Regions from separate parts of the Homo sapiens genome. Here regions 1 and 2 are each linked to region 3. The links are contacts of gene promoters, found by promoter capture Hi-C in blood cells and fetal thymus (Javierre and others, 2016). All regions are on one chromosome and are shown on one strand. The core of a region is centred on a gene start or on the middle of the fragment in contact, and the rest is flanking DNA. Distances in the headings are between cores, read along the strand shown. Region 1 overlaps HAT1 (histone acetyltransferase 1). Region 2 has its middle 68 kb from the start of DLX2-DT. Region 3 holds the start of ITGA6 (integrin subunit alpha 6).

What was found. Contacts are between HindIII fragments. The CHiCAGO score rates a contact against its expected background, and 5 or more counts as called.
Region 1: a fragment that was not itself captured here is called in contact with the fragment with the promoter of ITGA6 in region 3 in 2 of 17 cell types (naive CD4 T cells and non-activated CD4 T cells); the score reaches 5.4 in naive CD4 T cells.
Region 2: a fragment that was not itself captured here is called in contact with the fragment with the promoter of ITGA6 in region 3 in 14 of 17 cell types (megakaryocytes, M1 macrophages, M0 macrophages and 11 more); the score reaches 19.9 in megakaryocytes.

What each region holds. Positions count from the first base shown.
Region 1 is chr2:171,956,935-171,961,773 of GRCh38, reverse strand. The region is part of intron 4 of HAT1 (histone acetyltransferase 1); the gene reads right to left. Among named protein-coding and RNA genes, the nearest start is that of HAT1, 37 kb to the right of the region's middle. The HindIII fragment of the contact is 1,209 bases long and covers 1,879-3,087 here.
Region 2 is chr2:172,168,548-172,173,238 of GRCh38, reverse strand. No RefSeq gene overlaps it. Among named protein-coding and RNA genes, the nearest start is that of DLX2-DT, 68 kb to the right of the region's middle. The HindIII fragment of the contact is 664 bases long and covers 1,865-2,528 here.
Region 3 is chr2:172,424,544-172,429,078 of GRCh38, reverse strand. ITGA6 (integrin subunit alpha 6) reads right to left here and starts at 1,493. Exons shown (of 26, transcript NM_000210.4): 1 at 1,109-1,493. The coding sequence starts at 1,290. RefSeq lists an enhancer at 181-681 and a silencer at 1,466-1,545. The HindIII fragment of the contact is 11,901 bases long and covers 1-4,535 here.

The DNA of each region.
Region 1 (4,839 bases), core at 1,234-3,733, 470 kb after region 3:
TGGAAAAACAAAGGTCATATTATGTTTATTTACACTGCATTAGTATTTTGCTACTTGAACTAAACAAGATAAACTTGTCAATATATACTTTTAAAGCTCTTTATGATATTTCATAAAAAGTATTACTTATCAAGAACACCATCACAATTTGAAATTTTACTAGTCTACCAAAGATTTTTTCGAAATTTCTGGAAGTATGTAGGATTTTCCTAGAAAGAGGCTAAACACTCCATAAAATTTTTAAAATCTGCTCTCATATCCTCTCAAATTCAATCCAATTAGTGGGACACTAGGATAAAATAACTGAAATTCACAGTTAATACAAACTTTATCCATCTATTTCAACTTCCTGTACCAAACTTTTCCCAGAAATGCTAGCAATTAGCAAGACAACAATCTTAGTTACCCACTACTTCACTAAAAGGCAATGAAATTACCCCCAAGAAAAGGCAGGAGGTTTTTGTTTTTAAGACAAGAGTCTTGCTCTGTCACCTAGGCTGGAATGTAGTAGTGTAACCATAGCTTACTGCAGCCTTGACCTCCTGGGCTCAAGAGATCCTTCTGTCTCAGCCTTCCAAGTAGCTGGGACTACAGGAGCATGCCATCATGCCTAGCTTTTGTTTTCGTTTTTTGAGACAGAGTCTTGCTCTGTCACCCAAGCTGGAGTACAGTGGCGCGAACTCGGCTTCCTGCAACCTCCACTTCCCGAGTTCAAGTGATTCTCCTGCCTCACCCTCCTGAGTAGCTAGGACCACAAGCACGCACCACAACACCTGGCTAATTTTTGCACTTTTGGTAGAGATGAGGTTTCACCATGTTGGCCAGGCTAGTCTCAAACTCCTGACCTCAAGTGACCTGTCCACCTCGGCCTCCCAAAGCGCTGGGATTACAGGTTTGAGCCACCACGTTCAGCATTTTTTTTTTTTAATAGGCAGGGTCTTATTATGTTACCAAGGCTGGTCTCAAATTCCTGGCCTCAAATGATCCTCCTGAGTCAGCCTACAGAGTAGCTGGCATTACAAGCACAGAGCAGGAGGTGTTAATAAAAGCAAAGGTCAAGGACAACCAGATGAAAAAATCATCAGTGTCTGAATAATCAAGTTTATTGTATTGTAAAATTCAGAATTATGTTTCCTTTAAAGATGGTGGCTAGTAGAGATTTTATAGGCATCTTAATTGTGACTGAAGAATTTTAGGTGCAACTAGAGCATTCAGCTTGGAAAAGTAAAAGAATGGATGATTAAAAATTAATGTAATGACATAATCCTAATAAGAAATAACTTCTAAGCAGATGTTATGGCTGCTGACCATCTATGCAGTATGATCTGCAAAGCCCTAATATATTAGACTCAAACCTAACATCCAAAATAAAATTTTTTTATTGTTTCCACTTAAACCTATTTCTTCTATAGTTTTCCCAGTTAACAGTACCATAATTGAACTTGGGCAATGGGGTTCTCGTTTTTTTTCTTCATCTGTCACATCTAATTCAACAGCAGACCTCCAAAATGTTCCTTACTCTGACAACTAAGTCCAGTGTCACCTCTAACACTGCAATGTTCCGGTCTCTTCTTTCACTTTTGCCCTATACAGTGTGTTCTCTGCACAGCAGCCAGAATCATATTTTAAAAATATAAATCACATTGTTTATGACCTCCACCTACTTAAGAATGCCTCTAAAGAATGCCAACTACTCTTATTTCTTGCAAACACCTATCACAGAACACAAGATCCTATATGATGATCTAGCTTTGCATCCCCTTCAACCATCTCCTACCCCTCTCTCCATCACCACAATGATTTAACCCTGGTAATCTTTCTGGACTACAAAAATGCCAAAAATGCTGTATTTTTAGAGCCTTTGTATCTTAGTAAGCTTTACCCTCAGATTATAACATGGCTGGTTCCTCCTTTATCATTCAGAAATGAGCAAAATGTATCTTCATAATACTGCCTGAATTTAATTTGTGTATTTACTATTTTGTTTACTGACTGTTCCTCTTGGCTAGAATGTAAGCTCCATGACTTTGTCTGCCACTGTATCGCTGGCATCAACAACACAGAAGGCACTATGGAATGAACACTCACTGCAAACTGAGATAGAAGAAGCAAGCCCATGACCCACATATCCCCTACCCAATCGTTTTTAATAAGGGGAAAAAAGTCTTTGTTTGAATACGCAATATAAATGATCTTTGACCACAAAGCAAATAAGTAACTCTACAAAGAGACATTATAAAAGATTGATTCCTTATTCCTAACACAGTATTTCTAAATGGAAAAACCTAATTTTCAAGAATGGAACAATTAGATGTCAATGCAAATACACAGCTATTTTCACTGCATGAAATATTTAAAAGATTTATCTATAACTAAATCAATAGTTCCTTTGGAAGAAATCAATTCAGTGCTATCAGCTGCAACTGTAAAAAACAAAAACCCTCCAACAGTGGGTTTACACACAAGGAAAAACATCACCTGCATTTTTAATAAGAATATCTAGCTGGGCTTGGGTCTGGAGAATTTAGCAATCTACATATTTGATTATGAAAAAACTCTATTTTAATAAATGTGTTAAATGCTAGTTTATCTAAGATTACATCTTTTCAAACATCAAACCACTACAGTATTACTCAGAATCACTTTTGTATCTGCACAATTTCAAAAGTTATCCTGGGAAACAAACTATATAAAATAAAACAAATATTAAATGTAGTTACATATTATTTATCTGGCAAGCTCAGTCATCTCAAACATGGCTGGGAAGTGGGGAAAAACACACAAAAAAACCAAATAGAACTCAAAATATTTCTAATACTAAAGTTGAATAATGAATATGAAACTACTTCAGATCTTTTTCATGCTATGCACAATTCATATTATATGAAACTATTTCAGATCTTTTTCATGCTACGCACAATTAGTTTTATAGATGGGGCATAGGGTTGGCAAAAGAGGTAAAGTCAGAAGTTAATGTCAGTTTAAAGTCCTGAAAAAGTTGGTGGCATTGTTAATGTTTTAGGAACTGCTACTTCTGCAAAAGAAAGTTATGACATACAGTATGAAGTAATCAGATTCCATCAAGCTTACCAATATGGTATTTTTAACCATAAGGGGTTTGCTAGTGTGAAGCTCCTTACAATGATAGCAGTAAACTGGGAGCACATGGCATAAAACACAGGAGAAGGCTGGGTACGGTGGCTTGTGCCTGTAATCCCAGCATTTTGGAAGGCCAAGGTGGGAAGATTGCTTGAGGCCAGGAGTTTGAGGCCAGTCTGGGCACTATAGCAAGACCCCGTCTCTACAAAAAATTAAAAATTAAAAAAATATTTTTTTTAATGAGGGGGAAAAACACATGGTCAAAAGGGGAAAGATACCTATGTAACAAACGTGCAAGTTCTGCACATGTATCCCAGAACTTAAAATTAAAAAAAAAAATAACGGGAGAGAGAGAGAAAAAGCAGTAAGCCCAAGAGCCTGGATCCTCTTAGAACAGGTCATAAATATTCCTAACATCTTTTAATCAGGATATTATTATATATTATGCATAATAACACTAAATAATCATCTCCTAGTACAATACTGATTATTTACTAGTTGTATGACTTTGGGCAAAACCTTTAAATATAACAAATCCCTCAAAATTTAAATAATAAAAAAGGGCCAAGTAAGTCAGTTCCAGTAATGAGAGGAGGTTTTAACCAAAAATATAGATGGGGCATAGGGGTGGCAAAAGAGGTAAAGTCAACAGTTAAAATCAGTTTAAAGCCCTGAAAAAGTTGGTTTAATTGTTAATTCTTTAGGAACTGCTACTTCTGCAGAGGAAAGTTATGACATACAGTATGAAGTAATATATTTCATTTTCCATACTTGTGTCTAGCACAGTATTACCAACAGTATATCAGATATAATTTACTAAAACTTGCTGGATTAATAAGTGCAAAGAAAAGAGATTTTGCTATAAGAATTAACTTTCAATTTTATAAATATGATTTAGTGACAAAATGGGATTTAATCTTTAAAAAAATCAATGGTGAAGTTTCAATGCCCTTAAATGAGGAATGCTCGGAAACAGAACAAGCCTAAAATATAATTTTCTTAAGGCCCTCAAAGATTCATGTCCATCCCACATGCAAAATACATTCATTCTATCCAAACATTCCTAAAAGTCTCAACCATTACCATATCAACTCAAGCCCAAAATCTCATCTAGATATAGTCAGTTCAAAAGTCACACCTCTCATCATAGGTAAGACTGTGGGTATGATACATCCTAGGGCAAAATTCCTCTCCATCTATGAACCTGTGAAATTAGAAAACACAGTATCACTTCCAAAAGACAATGGTAGGACAGGCATAGGACAACAGTTATAGAATCTCTCATTCCAGAAAAGGAAATGGAAGGAAGAAAGGAGCCACTGCCACCAAGCAATTTCAAAATTCAGCATGGCAAACTCCATTAGGTTTCAAGGCCTAAGAATAACTGTGGCCTGCAGCTCCACCCTCTGGACCCAAAGCTTTGCCCTCAGAGTCATTCTTCCACTTTCTTTAAAGGTAGCACATGTTGGCAGCTGAGCAGTTTTATTAGCCTGTTTCCTGCCTGTGAAATTTGGAGAGTTCATACAGCCTTCCTTCATTTTGTCCTGTCAATCCAAGCTGCACTATAAAGTTTTAATTCTCAAAACCCTTGAGTCGCCTGTGTACGTCATGAGGGTTCATACCATTAGACAAGAGGGTCCTCCACAAATGTTCCCCAGATCTACATTCCTAGCTTTTTGCTGAGACAACTGAGGAGATCCATGAGTCACGTGCCTAATCCCTTCAGCACTAGCAAAAGGT
Region 2 (4,691 bases), core at 947-3,446, 260 kb after region 3:
TTCATGGTACTCTGAGCTCTGCTGTCACAAGGAAAGAGAGTCCACATCCCACCCAAGCACTGAGCAACAATGGAAAGTCAAACGCTGGAGGAGGAAGCAAGGCCAAAAAAATATTTTTTTAATAAAATAAAAAAATTTATGTAGATATAAAGAAAATGATAGCAACGCAACGATAAAGGCATTGGAGTAGCACTTTCCACCAGCATATTGCTAGTCAGAATGAGTGCAGCCCGGCGCGAGGACCACCCGTTTCCGTGACCACGACTGGACCCCTCCCCAGCCCACTATCCTTGGGGTCCGCTCGTTCGTGCCGTCCGAGCCGTCTGTGGGGGCGACCCAGGCCCGGGCGCCTAACTCCCGGCAGCGGGGCGGCAGTTCGCGCTTCCCCAAGGGTGGTGCAGGTCAGCCCCGCAGGCGGGCAAGATCCTAGCCCCGGGACGTGCTGTCGTGTGTGCAAACTTCGCTGCGGTCTGAAAGAGCTGTCGGTCGGTCGGGGCCCCGGAGGCCCCCGGCACGGCTGCAGTTGCGCCCGGGGCTGAACGCGGCGTTGGCTGCAGCGCGCTCCCAAGCCGCCCCGCCCCGGCCCACATTCCTAAGGCCACAGTGCGACCCAGCGGGCCGCGGGGAAACTGCGCCGGACCACGGCCCGCCACCGCCCGAGCCCTCACCTGCAGCCTTCCAGGAAATGTGGCCGCGGGAGCAGCTTCCCTCCTCCTTCCTAAATGGAGAGGGCTGATCTGTTTGCCAAGACAATGTCTAAACCTGACCCTTCCCTCACGCTGTAGAAGAAAATCGAAGTGCTGGAAAGTTCCGGTGGAGGGACTTGGAGGGATAAAATTCAGAATTCCAGACATCTTGTAATTTATGAAGTCAAGGAAGGTCCGTTTCTACCTGAAGAATGACTCTAATGATTTAATAAAATCTATAGACACTAGGCTTATAAGCAGGCTCGACCAAAATGCCACCTGCTTTGTGACGTTGGCCTCTGGCTAAGTGGAAATGTCCCCTGGCTCGCTGGCTTTCGCGGCCATTGTAACAGTCTCTCAGCTCTTACCACGTTCCCTGTGAATTGAATCTGCATGTCATTCCCTTTAGCAGAACCTACAAGCTCCATGAAGCAGAGATCCTATCTTCCTCATCTGTCTTAGGAATAGGCACCAAGACAGAAAGAAACCCTGCAGCAGTTAAGAACAGGAAAGAAAAAAGCAGCAAAGTCACAACAGCAACACTCACTCGCCAATTTTATTTGTCACTTAACAAGTTTATTGGGCTGGGCGCGGTGACTCACATCTAAAATCCCAGCACTTTGGGAGGCTGAGGCCGGTGGATCACCTGAAATCAGGCGTTCGAGAGCAGCCTGGCCAACATAGTGAAACCCTGTCTCTACTAAAAATACAAAAATTAGCCGGGTGTGGTGGTGCGCGCCTGTAATTCCAGCTACTCGCGAGGCTGAGGCACAGGAATCATTTGAACCCGGGAGGCGGAGGTTGCAGTGAGTCAAGATGGCACCACTGCACTCCAGCCTGGGTGACAAAGTAAGAATCTGTCTTAAAAAAAAAAAAAAGTTTATTGAACACCAAATAACCATATATTATGGTGAACCTTGATCCAGTAGACCAGCATTTTTCAATGGATGCCCTCTGCACTTCAGTTTCAGGCCATATTAATACCATATAACTTGAACATCAGGGCACCCTGAACATATGGTGAGCCCACGTGTTGCAAGAGAAAAGTTCCTCAAAAAAAAAAGTTGCGGTTTTAGGAATTCTTTTAGCCAACTTGAAAACATAAATGTTTAGGATATATATGAGTTAAATGTCAGTGTATAGGATTGGATTTATTCATTTGGTTACACATAAAAGCTTAAATCACACATGTGAAATAACACATTGATTTTGAAATAATGCTTTTTTTCTACTCTGACATGTTATGAAGCAATTTTATTTAAACTCTTACCTGAGTTTTTCAATATCTTAGTCAGAAGAAGAGACGTATCTTAGGGCATCTAACACAGTCATTTTTATTTACAAACAATATTTTTTGAACCCATGTGTGAGCTACCACCGGACATTTAATACTAAGCCATAATTTGATAAATTCAGAGTTTTAAAAAATGTATCCTATAGGTATAGATTTGTGATCTCTTCAACATATTCACTAACTGTATTGCTTTTTTGTCATTGCTGATTTACACCAGCACCCAGTCAATAGTCACATGGGGAGGTCAGGCCCTGCATCAATCAGTAAGGGTCTAGCTACAGAGAATAAGGGTCTAGCTCCTGGCTAGTTTGAGCAAGAGATTTGTAACAGGGTGTCATATAACTTCCAGAATCACCGAACTGGAGGTAGTAGGGGAGAGTTTGGCAAGAAACAGACTCTAGACTGAGCTTCTAGTAATAATTCCAAAGTCACATCAGATAATTGGCCAGAGAACAAAAAGCCCCAAGCCAAATCTGGCTCTGCTGCTATGGCGGCCCCGTGTGAAATGATGCCACCTCTGCTACAATCAAGAAGCTGCCGGCCAAGCTTGCTGCTGCTGCATATCATATCTGCTACCAATCACAAACAAAAATGAATGCCACCTTCCAAAGCCAAGATTTATATAAGCAAGTGCATCTGAATGTCAGAACCTAAAGTACATCCAAAATTCTTACTGCAAGAAGGTCTAGAAAAGATTGTTTTTAGCTTTCCGGATTCTTCAGTATAAGAAGACAGATTCTTTTTTATGTATATAAAAAAGTAGACACTGGATCTCACTATGTTGTCCAGGATGGTCTCAAACTCCTGGCCTCAAGCAATCCTCCCACCTTGGCCTCACAAAGTGCTGGGATAACAGGCATGAGCCACAGCACCTGGCCTAAGACAATAGAAGAAAGTTAGAATACATGGTGAGTAAGGTAGTCCACAGCAACTGCCTCATACTCCCAATAATAGTTACTAATTTTGTGCTAAATGTATTTTTCCCCCTCTTTTTTTTTAACCAATTCCATCAGATAACCTTTATCATCAACTAAAACTAGTATTGATTGGTTTCAGTATTGTGCTTTTTCCATACAATACCTTAGTCATTTAAAAGTAAGTAATCCAGAAAATGCTCTGAAATATGAGACCTCGGAAGCCCTTGAATATTAGGATACTCCATCTTTTCTGAGAGATAATTTGGAAGAAAAAAACCCTTGCCTCATATTTGAGCATACACAGTAGTTTTTCCTTGAAAAGTTGTTGTTGTTTTTTTTTAATATCTTTATGGGCAAGGGTATCCATTGTATAGGGCTGCCTAACAAATTGCCTTAAAATGGATGGTTTAAAACAACAGAAATGTATTCCCTCAAAGTTCTGGAGGCCAGAAGTCTGAAATCAAGGTATCAGTAGGGCTCATTTCCTTCTAGGGGCCTGGCCTTCCAGCTTCTGGTGGCTAATATTTTATGGCTTCCTTGGCTTGTGGCCACACCATTCCAACCTCAGCCTCTGCCTTACTGTCTCTCTCTTCTGTGTCTGTCTTCTCCTCTTCTGTCTCAAATCTACCCCTGCCTTTCTCTTATATGAACACTTATCACTGGACTTAAAGCCCACTTGAATAATACAGGATGATCTCAAGATCCTTAACTTAATTACATATGCAAAGAATCTTTTACCAAATAAGGTAACAGCCACAGGTTCCAGGGATTTGACATGGGTGTTCTGAGGGGACCACCATTCAACCCACTACAGCAAGGAAGTTTAGGAAATGCTGGACTAAACAAATTAAATTGGTTTCTTTTCTACAGGATTTTGCAAAGCCTGTAACGTCCTAAATGTGCATTGTGAATCTCCAAGAGTGAGATACACTATACAGTGATTTTCAAAATTATTCAACCATGAAATCCTATTTGCAGAAGCAATATTCCACAGAACACACTCTGGCACAAACTTATAATTTACCTGCTGGGCAAGTCCTCAGAAAGAATGTCAATAAGTATCAGAGAAGCCAAAAATAAGTGACTAAACAGTTGAAGGTTCTCAAGGATTTGGCAAGAGTAACTATTCTAAGCCACAACCATGCAACACTGCTAAAGATAATCACAGCCATAAAGTCATAACATGAAGTAAAATATTTATGTCCAGTTACTACACTGCTTCCTGTATTTGTCCATTTTCAAGCTGCTGATAAAGACATACCCGAGACTGGGAAGAAAAGGAGGTTTAATAGGACTTACAGTTCCACATGACTGAGGAGGCCTCAGAATCATGGTGGGAGGTGAAACGCACTTCTTGCATGGCAGCGGCAAGACAAAAATGAGGAAGAAGCAAAAGCAGAAATCCCTGATATACCCAGCAGATTTCATGAGACTTATTCACTATCATGAGAATAGCATGGGGAAGACTGGCCCCCATGATTCAATTACCTCCCCCTGGGTCCCTCCCACAACATATGGGAATTCTGGGAGATACAATTCAAGTTGAGATTTGGGTGGGGACACAGCCAAACCATATCATTCCACCCCTGGCCCCTCTAAATCTCATATCCTCACATTTTAAAACCAATCATGTCTTCCCAACAGTCTCCCAAAGTCTTAATTCATTTCAGCATTAACCCAAAAGTCCACAGTCCAAAGTCTCATCTGAGACAAGGCAAGTCCCTTGCGCCTATGAGCCTGTAAAATCAAAAGCAAGCTAGTTACTTCCTAGATACAATGGGGGTACAGGTATTG
Region 3 (4,535 bases), core at 244-2,743:
TCCTAAACACAAAATCTCTTCACTGTGGCTGCACTTTGCTTTCTCCGGTCTGTTGGTCCTGGAAGGTCCTTAGTTCAACTCAAGGCCTGGGTGGGGAGGGGAGACCTTTTGTTGCTACAGCCTATTTTTCAGTAGCACAGATGAAGAATGCAACCCCATAGCGATTAAGGCGACTAAGCGCCAAAATACCCTCTCCGGCTTAAATAGCCGATCATGTGGGAACCAAACACTGTTTAAGAAATAAAAGGAGAGGCCAGTAGTGCCGGTCTCCTCTTTCTCCTGGGAGGTTTACCGCTACGGTGGGGGGTTGTCCCTTACAAACCTTGTTTGCAAAGTCCAGGCTCAGATCGGACATTTTGCTTTAACCCCTTGGCTGTGCCCGCCCAACGCAGGAGCCGAGCGGGTCTCGGGTGCGGCCGAGTACTTTGGGGGCTGGGCACATCACTCAGACTTGTTTTCTCAGCTGATCTAGTCCAGCGAACAGGTGTTTGGTTAATTCCCGCCCCCACCCCCATCTTTTTTTTTTTTTTTTTCAAAGGCATGTAAAAGTATCTCCTAAGGAGCGCCCCCGCCTTGCTGAGAAAGTCATGCAGGACACATGGAAAGTGGCTTTCCAACTTGTGCGGGGCGCGCCAGTCTGCGGGGGAGACGGGGTGCACCGTGAGTTTGGGAAAGGCCTAGACCATCCTGGAACTACGCTCCCTGCAAACCCACAGCAGCGCTGCGGTGACCCTGAACGCCACCCCAGCCCCAAACACACACGTGAAGCTCAGCAAAGCGTGCCACCTGCCGGGGTCCCAGCAAACACGCCCGGAGGGAAGAACCGGCGGAAAGCACTTTGTTTAAAACAGAAAAAAAAGTAAACTCTCCCGGGGCCCAGCCTAGCCCTCGGGTTCTCCTCCTTCCCGAGCTGAATGGAGGGAGGCGCCGCGCGGGGCGGGTCAGGGCGGGGAGCCGAGCGCGCTGGGCGCTGGGTGCGCCTCGGCCGGCCCGGGCGCGACCCACGGGCCAACTACTCCCCGGGGCCGGCGGGAACAGGGCGCGCCCTCGCCTCAACTCGCGCGCAGGCCGGCGCCCCAGTGGGGGTGGGAAGGGTCTGGGAACTCACAGCCGCTTGTCCTCGGGCTGCAGTTGCCAGTGCATGGCCAGCGAGAAGCCGAAGAGGCTCCCGGGGTCTCCATATTTCCGGATCACGTTGTCCTCCCGAGTGTCCAAGTTGAAGGCTGCGCCGAGCCGGGACAGGAGCCCCGCCGACAGGTAGAGCAAGCACAGCTGCCCGGCGGCGGCCATGGGCGGACGCACGGGGAGGGGAGCGGGGACCTGCAGCGGCCGCCCTGCGCTCCGGGCTGGGTCCGAGGCTGCCGCGCTGCTGCTACCGCAGCCACCTTCGCCTCCTCTCGCCGCTGCGCCCGGCCCCACCCCCGGGACGGGTCGCGCTCTCCGTCCGGCCGCTCCCCCTCGCGGGCAGCTCGCGACCGCTGAATGAGCCCGTTGTTCTCTGGAGACTCGCAGGCGTTTTATCAAGTGACGAGGACGCCGGCCCCGCCCCTCCCCACCCTCTCGCCCCTCCTTGCGCGCCCGCGGCCCGGCGCACCGCCCGCACCTTACCCGCCGGCTCTGGCGTCTCCAGCTGCCCGGTACCTGCCCGGAAGCCACGACGTGGGAGCCCCGGAGGCGAGCTCGCGGCGAAGCAGCCCCACTGCGCCGCCCTCTGTGGACAGAATTGTGGTTGCCGAGTAGCACAGAGCGAGGGAGACTTTACTACCCGTTATAAAGAGAAGTGCAGGTGATGCACCGGGCCTCATGGCCTGAGCAGCCTGTTCTTGCAGATGTGGGCCCACGTGCAGATGCATACGTCATTCATTCATTTCTACAGGTGTTTATGGAGCGCTTAAGGCGTGCCCAACACTTGGGGACTACAGCTGTGTAGACTGTTCTGGGTCCTCAAACACCTAACAACCCTCAAAAATGATCACAGCGCACACCTTGATAGTGCTGTATAATGTACACAACCCAGCCATTACCTCAATTCATCCTAACAGTCCTATGAGGTAGGTGTTTCTTTTTGCAGATCAGAAAACCGAAGTTCCGCCTTGTCCCCAGATCACCTAGGATTTTGCCCAGGTGACCAGGAGAGCTTGTGGAAGAAGTCACGCAAGTCAAGGATGGGTTGTTTAAAGTGGCGCCAGGAGCTCAGGCGACGATGCCGTTCTTTCCTAGCCCCGGACTTTCAGAACTAGTTGTGGGGAGAACTGCTGGGCCAAGAGACAGCTCCGAGTTCTGTGTAGGTGGCATGAAGGCTCCTGCCTCCAGGACATGAGGCGGGGCTCCAGTGAGGTGTTGGCCCTAGGGGCAACCTTATCCTGCAGGGGTTCTTAACCCGAGGAGAGGTAATTAATTCAAGAGTACTGTGAACTTGGATGAGAAAAAATTTACGTCTTAATTTTCACCAACCTCTGACATTTAGCACGTTTTGCCATTATGAACGTAGACAACAAACTACAGTAGCAGTAGGATAAGTATTTATGACTTAGTAATCACTAGAAACCATAGGTTTTTACATCACATCACAGTTGTTGCAAGTATCTCAAATAACAGTAGTTATTAGACAATCAGCCAGATATTATATGTCAATAATGAAGCATATATATTGCTCTAGCACAAATTTTTAAAAACATTTTGTTAGCTACATTTCAATATTATTGGCTTTTTTTGTAACCTCTTGTGGTTTCTTTTATGTATTTAAAACCCTTATTCTGAGAAGAACCCCATGGTTTTCAGCAGCCTGCCAAAGGGGTCCCATGGCATGAAAAGGTTGGGACGTGCTGGCCTGAAGCCTTCTGGAATGCCTTGGGGAGCCCTCTTTGGAATCTGACATCCCTGCATTGGAAATACAAGCAGGGTGCAGCCCCAGGAAAGAGCAGGAGCTGTGTGTGCATAGGGGTAGGGGTGGCCTCTTCTTCACCTCAAGGAGTATTCAAGAGAACAGCATGTGCCACTCAGAAAAGCTGCGTGAACATCATCAAGGGTCCCCACAGGTGGTAGCAGCTGTCAGAGTAAGTCCGTCAGTATATTAGGGGTGTGTACCACTTCCTTTCCAATCAGTAACTCCAGTCAATTATAGTCCAAAGTGGGGTGCAGTGGTTTAAATTCAGTAGATGATTTTGGAGAGCACACAGTTTTAACAAATATATCTTGATAAGGTTGAGAAACTATTGGAGACAATCTAGTAAACTAAGAAGTACTTGCAACGTGATTTTTCATGCAAATAAGTTGCAAGTTAGCCTTTTCCCTTCGTGTAAAATATGTACTATTCCAGAGAGATGGGGTCCAGACTATTATAGGCATAGTATAATGAACCTCACTGCAGAGTGTACTCAGCCAGGAGCTGGTGATTTGGCTGTAATGGTTACTGAAATATTCTGAATTGGTTGATAAAAGCTGCTGCCCTTAGTTCCTCACAGGCAACCATCCCTGCCCTGCCCATTTTCCTAGGACTAAGCAACTTCCTCACAACCTGGCAAATGAAAGTTTAAGCCCTTAAGCCCTGATGCAGCAAGGGCTCCCTCTGCTTGGATATCCCCATGTCACACCAGCTGTTAACTATTCTGAATATCACCCCTTGCTTCTAAGAGTAATTCTGTGGACCATTGATTCCTGTCTTCCCAAGATGTGTTTAGTGGATGATGTATGAATGGCCAGAGTTATTTACTTTATCCCAAACACAGATTGTGCTCAAATTGAAATTCTAAATAATATTAAATTTAAATATCACAACTACATGTATAGCACTACTGAAGCAAATTATGCTTGTGTGGGAAGAGGTTCAGATAAAGAAAAACAAGGCTGGGAGTCTTGTTCTGGAATATGTCAAGTGCCCATCGCAAATGGAAAACTTATTAGCTCAGTGCTCCTACCTGCCACCTGTCTCCTACCTACTTGAAGTTGAGTCAAACTCTCACTCTCAACATAGATGCCGAAGATACTTGAAGTTGAGTCAAACCCTCACTCTTGACATAATTTATTTGAAGATTGTCAGCTCCTTCTGACTATAACCATCAAGTTTTGGCCAGGCACAGTGGCTCACGCCTATAATCCTGGCACTTTGGGAGGCGAGGTGGGAGGATCACCTGAGGTCAAGGGTTCGAGACCAGCCTGGCCAAAATGGTGAGACTCCCCCCCACCCAACCCCACCACCCCGTCTCTACTAAAAATACAAAAATTAGCTGGGTCTAATGATGGGCACCTCTAATCCCAGCTACTCGGGAGGCCAAGGCTCAAGACTCACTTGAAATGGGGAGACAGAGGTTGCAGTAAGCCAAGATTGCACCACTGCACTCCAGACTAGGTGACAGAGCAAGACTCTGACTCAAAAAAAAAAAAGAATCAAGTTTTGTGACTCAGTTGTTATTTCCATTGTAAAACAGAGTTGGGTGTTTTACAAAAGTGTCTTACAAAAAGGAGGTTTAGAGGTCATTCTGGATCCACTGAGGACACATCAATCTCTGGGGCCAAAGGAATAAAAGAATTCAGAG